Regions from separate parts of the Homo sapiens genome. Here region 2 is linked to region 1. Evidence: promoter capture Hi-C in human tissues and cell types (Jung and others, 2019). All regions are on one chromosome and are shown on one strand. Each heading gives the region's core, a stretch centred on a gene start or on the middle of the fragment in contact. The rest is flanking DNA. Distances are from core to core; before and after follow the strand shown.

Evidence for each region. Contacts are between HindIII fragments. The study calls those that stand out against the background at their distance.
Region 2: a contact is called between a fragment that was not itself captured here and the fragment with the promoter of IL10 in region 1, in 1 of the 25 tissues and cell types used here (bladder).

The regions. Positions count from the first base shown.
Region 1 is chr1:206,771,244-206,774,275 of GRCh38, forward strand. It overlaps IL10 (interleukin 10), which reads right to left and starts at 1,251. Exons shown (of 5, transcript NM_000572.3): 1 at 1,028-1,251; 2 at 113-172. The coding sequence starts at 1,192. The region is part of intron 1 of IL19 (interleukin 19); the gene reads left to right. RefSeq lists cis regulatory regions at 880-1,501, 962-1,501. The HindIII fragment of the contact is 3,211 bases long and covers 1,192-3,032 here.
Region 2 is chr1:206,545,558-206,548,589 of GRCh38, forward strand. All of the region lies in intron 2 of RASSF5 (Ras association domain family member 5), which reads left to right. Among named protein-coding and RNA genes, the nearest start is that of RASSF5, 40 kb to the left of the region's middle. The HindIII fragment of the contact is 6,695 bases long and covers 1-3,032 here.

The DNA.
Region 1 (3,032 bases), core at 1-2,500:
TTCTCCTTTTCAAAGCGAAGGAAACAAACCCAATTCCCTGCAATCAGGAAGCAGAGTCTCCCTTCCCTTAATCATGCTGCACACTCCCCCAGCACCCCGCCCCTGCTCTCACCTTAAAGTCCTCCAGCAAGGACTCCTTTAACAACAAGTTGTCCAGCTGATCCTTCATTTGCTGCAGGAAGAACAAAAGGAGAATGAACTTGAGGTTTGGGGAAATAACTGAAATGCGGTCTTTTTGATGCCCTTTCATTTAGAGATTTTTTTTTTTAAATAAAATTGGCTCTGGCCCAAAAAAATCAAAAGGGGAGTTTTAAAAACAGAGGATTCAACAGTGATGGGACCATCACTTAAATCAGGTCCTCCTCCTCAGAGTCAAGTTATTTAAAAAATCTGGCCGATTTTGAAGGGAAAGCAGAAGCTTGACTCAGTCCTGGTCTTCTTTCTGCGGAGCTACATTCGGCTTTAAGGGACACCTATGTCAACCCTTCGGGGCCTTGAGCCCCCCTCATGTCCTGTTCTCTGCTTTTCTTTCTCCCCACTGTAGACATCCAGTTTAGCTTGGAAAGATCCCAGGGATTAAGAAGCTCCTTCTAATGCAGGTTTCCCTCATGTAGAGTGCTTCCCTAAACCACTGGTCTTTCAGGTCTGGAAACGCTCTAAGCAGAGGCAATTTAAATTTCCCTGCTGCAAGGCATGGGGAGCATCTTCACCTCGAATCAGACATTTCTTTACTTCTCCTAGCCAATAAAGTATAGAGCGCCAGCAGGATCTTATAAGTTTCTCAGCACGAGAGAGAACGCATTTACTTTATAAGGCAGGTTTCCTGCACATTTACTGTATCATCTGGCTTAGCTTAACTCACCAAACCCATGGCTTGATCTAGGATTCTCTTAAGAATTTAAGTTTGGGGGAATAGGTGTTGGGGATGGAGGTGGAGGCGCAGGAGGAGGGTTCTTATAGTTCCAGGAGAATGTCTAGTTCAGGCAGTCCCAGGAAGAGAGAAAGGACAGGAAGGAATCATACTCACAAAGAAAGTCTTCACTCTGCTGAAGGCATCTCGGAGATCTCGAAGCATGTTAGGCAGGTTGCCTGGGAAGTGGGTGCAGCTGTTCTCAGACTGGGTGCCCTGGCCTGGGCTGGCCCTCACCCCAGTCAGGAGGACCAGGCAACAGAGCAGTGCTGAGCTGTGCATGCCTTCTTTTGCAAGTCTGTCTTGTGGTTTGGTTTTGCAAGAGCAAGCCCCTGATGTGTAGACCTTCACCTCTCTGTCCCCCTTTTATATTGTAAGCTCAGGGAGGCCTCTTCATTCATTAAAAAGCCACAATCAAGGTTTCCCGGCACAGGATTTTTTCTGCTTAGAGCTCCTCCTTCTCTAACCTCTCTAATAAACTTAGTTTTCAATTTTTGCATCGTAAGCAAAAATGATTGGTTGAACATGAACTTCTGCATTACAGCTATTTTTAGGATGGGCTACCTCTCTTAGAATAATTTTTTAGCTTCTCAATTAAAAAAAGTTGATTTCCTGGGGAGAACAGCTGTTCTGTGCGCAGAGGCCCTCAGCTGTGGGTTCTCATTCGCGTGTTCCTAGGTCACAGTGACGTGGACAAATTGCCCATTCCAGAATACAATGGGATTGAGAAATAATTGGGTCCCCCCAACCTGGGATGAATACCCAAGACTTCTCCTTGCTAACTTAGGCAGTCACCTTAGGTCTCTGGGCCTTAGTTTCCCCAAGTAAAAATGAGGGGGTGGGCTAAATATCCTCAAAGTTCCCAAGCAGCCCTTCCATTTTACTTTCCAGAGACTGGCTTCCTACAGTACAGGCGGGGTCACAGGATGTGTTCCAGGCTCCTTTACCCCGATTTCATTAGGATTCTCAGGCACATGTTTCCACCTCTTCAGCTGTCCCCCACCCCAACTGTGCTTGGGGGAAGTGGGTAAGAGTAGTCTGCACTTGCTGAAAGCTTCTTATATGCTAGTCAGGTAGTGCTCACCATGACCCCTACCGTCTCTATTTTATAGTGAGCAAACTGAGGCACAGAGATATTACATCACCTGTACAAGGGTACACCAGTGCCAACTGAGAATTTGGTTTCCTCACCCTACTGTACACCATCTCCAGCACATAGAATGAAACCTTGGATTAAATTGGCCTTAGAGTTTCTTTTAGTTGTAAGCTTCTGTGGCTGGAGTCTAAAGTTTAAAAGATGGGGTGGAAGAAGTTGAAATAACAAGGAAAAGAAGTCAGGATTCCATGGAGGCTGGATAGGAGGTCCCTTACTTTCCTCTTACCTATCCCTACTTCCCCTTCCCAAAGAAGCCTTAGTAGTGTTGTCTTGGATTTGTGTGTGTGTGTGTGTGTGTGTGTGTGTGTGTGTGTGTGTGTGTAGAAGGTAAGGGGAGCCAGTTGGGTTGCGGCGAGGAGTGTTGCTCTACCTGGGGAAGGACCGGGGCAGTGACATCAGGACTTCTTCAGATATCTGGAAAGTCTCTGGGGATCCTTTGATTGAGCCTTCACCTTCCCCTTCCACAGGGGCTTTGCCTGCCATTCCAGTTTAGACTGTAACTGGGAGGAACACTGACCTAGGTGCAGGAGGCCTGGGCTCTGCCTTGGCCCTGCCACTCTATAGTCAGGGCAAATCACTCATCCTCCCTGTGTCTGTTTTTCATCTGTCCCAACAGGGCAATAGCACCTGTCCTCCTGCCTGCCAGGGAGCATTGAGCTTAAGTAGCCATGGACCCAGATGGAGGGCATTTCCAGTGTTCTGCTAGTTCTTCACCTTTCTGCATCAGCAATGGGACAACTCCAGTGGCAGCAGGTTCTGAGCTTGCTGCACTAGAGAAGGTCACTCACTGCAAGGGGTGCAAACACCTTGGGGCCCAGCCAGCGTGAAGTGAGTGGGAGGGAGGGATGAGAGGGCCCACGCCCACCCTGTGGATGTCCCTGCTGTGTGACCTATGGATCAGGGTCAGGGGACTGTGGTGTCTCTTCCCAACTCTTCAGGGAGTGTCAATGTAGAAACCTAAGAATC
Region 2 (3,032 bases), core at 321-2,820, 230 kb before region 1:
ATCTTGAACCCCTGGCCTCAAGCGATCCTCCTAAAGTGCTAGGATCACAGGCACAAGTCACCACATGGGATACTTTTAGGATTATTATGTCTGCTTAGTTAATTGACCTGTGTATCATTATGAAATGACCTTCTTTATCCCTGTTAACATTCTCTACTATGAAATCTACTTTGTCCAATATTAACATAGTTACTGCAGCTTTCTTTTAATTACCATTAGCATGGCATTCCCTAATCTACCCTTTCATTTTTAGGCTATGAGTCTCTTTATATTTAAAGATCATTTCTTATAGGCAGCAAATAGTTGGATCTTGTTTTTTTTTAAACCAATCTGCTCATCTCTACCCTTTGAGTATTTAGATCATTTGCATTTAATGTGATTATTGATATAGCTAGATTTTTTTTTTTTTTTTTGAGACAGTCTTGCTCTGTCACCCAGGCTGGAGTGCAGTGGCGCGATCTCGGCTCACGATATAGCTAGATTTTAAGTCTATCTTCTTACTACTTTTTTTCTTTTCTTTCTTCTTTTTCTATTTTTTTTTTTTTTTTTTTTTTTTTTTTTTTTTTTTTGGGACAGGATCTCATTCGGTCACCCAGGATGGAGTGCAGTGACACAATCATGGCTCACTGCAGCTTCAACCTCCCCAAGCTCAGGTGATCCTCCACTTCAGCCTCTCGAGGAACTGGGACTACACATGCACCACCACACCTGGCTGACTTTTTTGTACTTTTCGTAGAGACCGGGTTTCGCCATGTTGCCCAGCCTGGTCTCAAGTGATCAGGGGCTCAAGTGATCCTCCCACCTCAGCCTCCCAAAGTGCTGGGATTATGGGTATGAGCTACCGCACCCGGCCAGCTATTGGTTTTCTATGAGTATTCTATCTGTTCTTGGTTCACTTTTTCTTTTTTTCTTTCTTGCCTTCTTTTGGACTACTTGAATGTACTTTATGATTGCATTTTATCCCATTTGTTGCCTACAAGCTTTAACCCTTTGTTTTGTTATTTTAATGGTTGTCTTAGCATTTACAGTATATAAATGGTCCTTAATTTATGGGATTACATCCCAATAAACCCACTGAAAGTTGAAAATACCTGAAGTCAAAAATGCATTTAATACACCTAACCTACCAAACAACATGGCTTACCCTAGCCTATCTTAAATGTGATCAGAACACTTACATTAGCCTATAATTGGGCAAAATCATCTAACACCAAACCTATTTTCTTATGAAGTGTTGAATATCTCATGTAATTTATTGAATGCTGACCTAAATTATGGTTTCTATCAAATGTGCATCTCTTTAGCACCATCTTAAAGTTGAGAAATCATAAGTAGGACCGTTGTAAGGAGGGAACCATCTGTACATCTTTAGCTCATCACAGTCTACCTGTCAAATGATACTATGCCATGTCATGTATAGTATAAAACCCTGGCTAGGCACAGTGGCTCACACCTGTAATCCTAGCACTTTGGGAGGCTGAGGTAGGAGGGTCATTTGAGCCCAGGAGCTCGAGACCAGCCTGGGCAACATAGTGAGACCCTGTCTCTATTTTATACCAAAAAAAATTTTAAAAAAGAAAAGAAAAGACAAAAATGATAGTATCCTTCCATTTCTCATCTACAGACCTTTGTACCATTCTTGTCCTGTATTTTATTTTCGCATATACTACAAGCCAGGGGTCCCAGCCCCCAGGGCCACACACATGGCCTTTTAGGAATCAGGTTGCATAGCAGGAGGTGAGCAGTTGGAGAGCAAGCCACGCTTCATCTGTATTTACAGCCACTCCCCATGGCTTGCTTTACAGCCTGAGCTCTGCCTCCTTGTAGACCAGCGGCAGCATTAGATTCTCGGAGGAGCCTGAACCCTATTGTGAACTGCGCATGCGAGGGATCTAGGTTGCGTGCTCCTTATGAGAATCTAATGGCTGATGATCTGTCACTGTCTCCCATCACCCCCAGATGGGACCATCTAGTTGCAGGAAAACAAGCTCAGGCCTCCCACTGATTCTACATGATGGTGAGTTGTATAATTATTTCATTATATATTGCAATGTAATAATAATAGAAATAAAGTGCACCATAAATGTAATGCACTTGAGTCATCCCCAAACCACCAGCCCCACCCCAGTCCATGGAAAAATTGTCTTCCACAAAACCAGTCCCTGGTGCCAAAAAGGTTGGGGACCACTGCTATAAGCCCCTTACAATATTGTTACTATTTTATTTAAATGGCCAATTATATTTTAAAGAGATTTAAATGATAAGAAATTGTTTATTCATTTGGTTACCATTTCTGGTACTTTTTTTTCTTCTGGTAGATCCAGGTTTCCATCCGATATCATTTTCTTTCTGCCTGAAGGACTTTCTTTAACATTTCTTGTATTTGTGGGTGTGCTGATGATGAGTTTTTTCAACTTTCCATGTCTGAAAAAGTTCTAATTTCACCTTCCTTTTTGAGAGATTTTTATGGGATAGAAATTTCTAGGTTGGCACTTTTTTTCTTTCATTATTTTGAAGATGTTGCTTCACTACCTCCTCACTTGCATTATTTCTAACAATAAATTTACTGGTATCTTTATCTCTGCTCCTCTGTATATAACATATTCTTCTTTTTTCTTTTTATCGCTATGTATTAGTCTGTTTTGTGTTACTATGAAGGTATACCTGAGACTGGGCAATGTATAAAGAACAGAGTTTGACTCATGGTTCTGCAGACGGTACAAGCATGGCACCAACATCTGTTTGGCTTCTGATCAGGACCTCAGGAGGCTTTACTCATGGCGGAAGGTGAAGGGAGAGCAGGCATGTCACATGGTGAGAGAGGGAGCCAGAGAGAGAGGAGGAGGCGCCAAGCTCCTTTGAACAACCAGCTCTCACATGAAGGAACAATACGAGATGCTCATTACCATGGGGAGGGCACCAAGACATTCATAAGGGATCTGCCGCCTCAACCTAGACACCTCCCGCCAGGCCCCACCTCTAACATGAGGGGTCAGATTTCAACATGCGATTTGGAGGGGACAGATATCCAA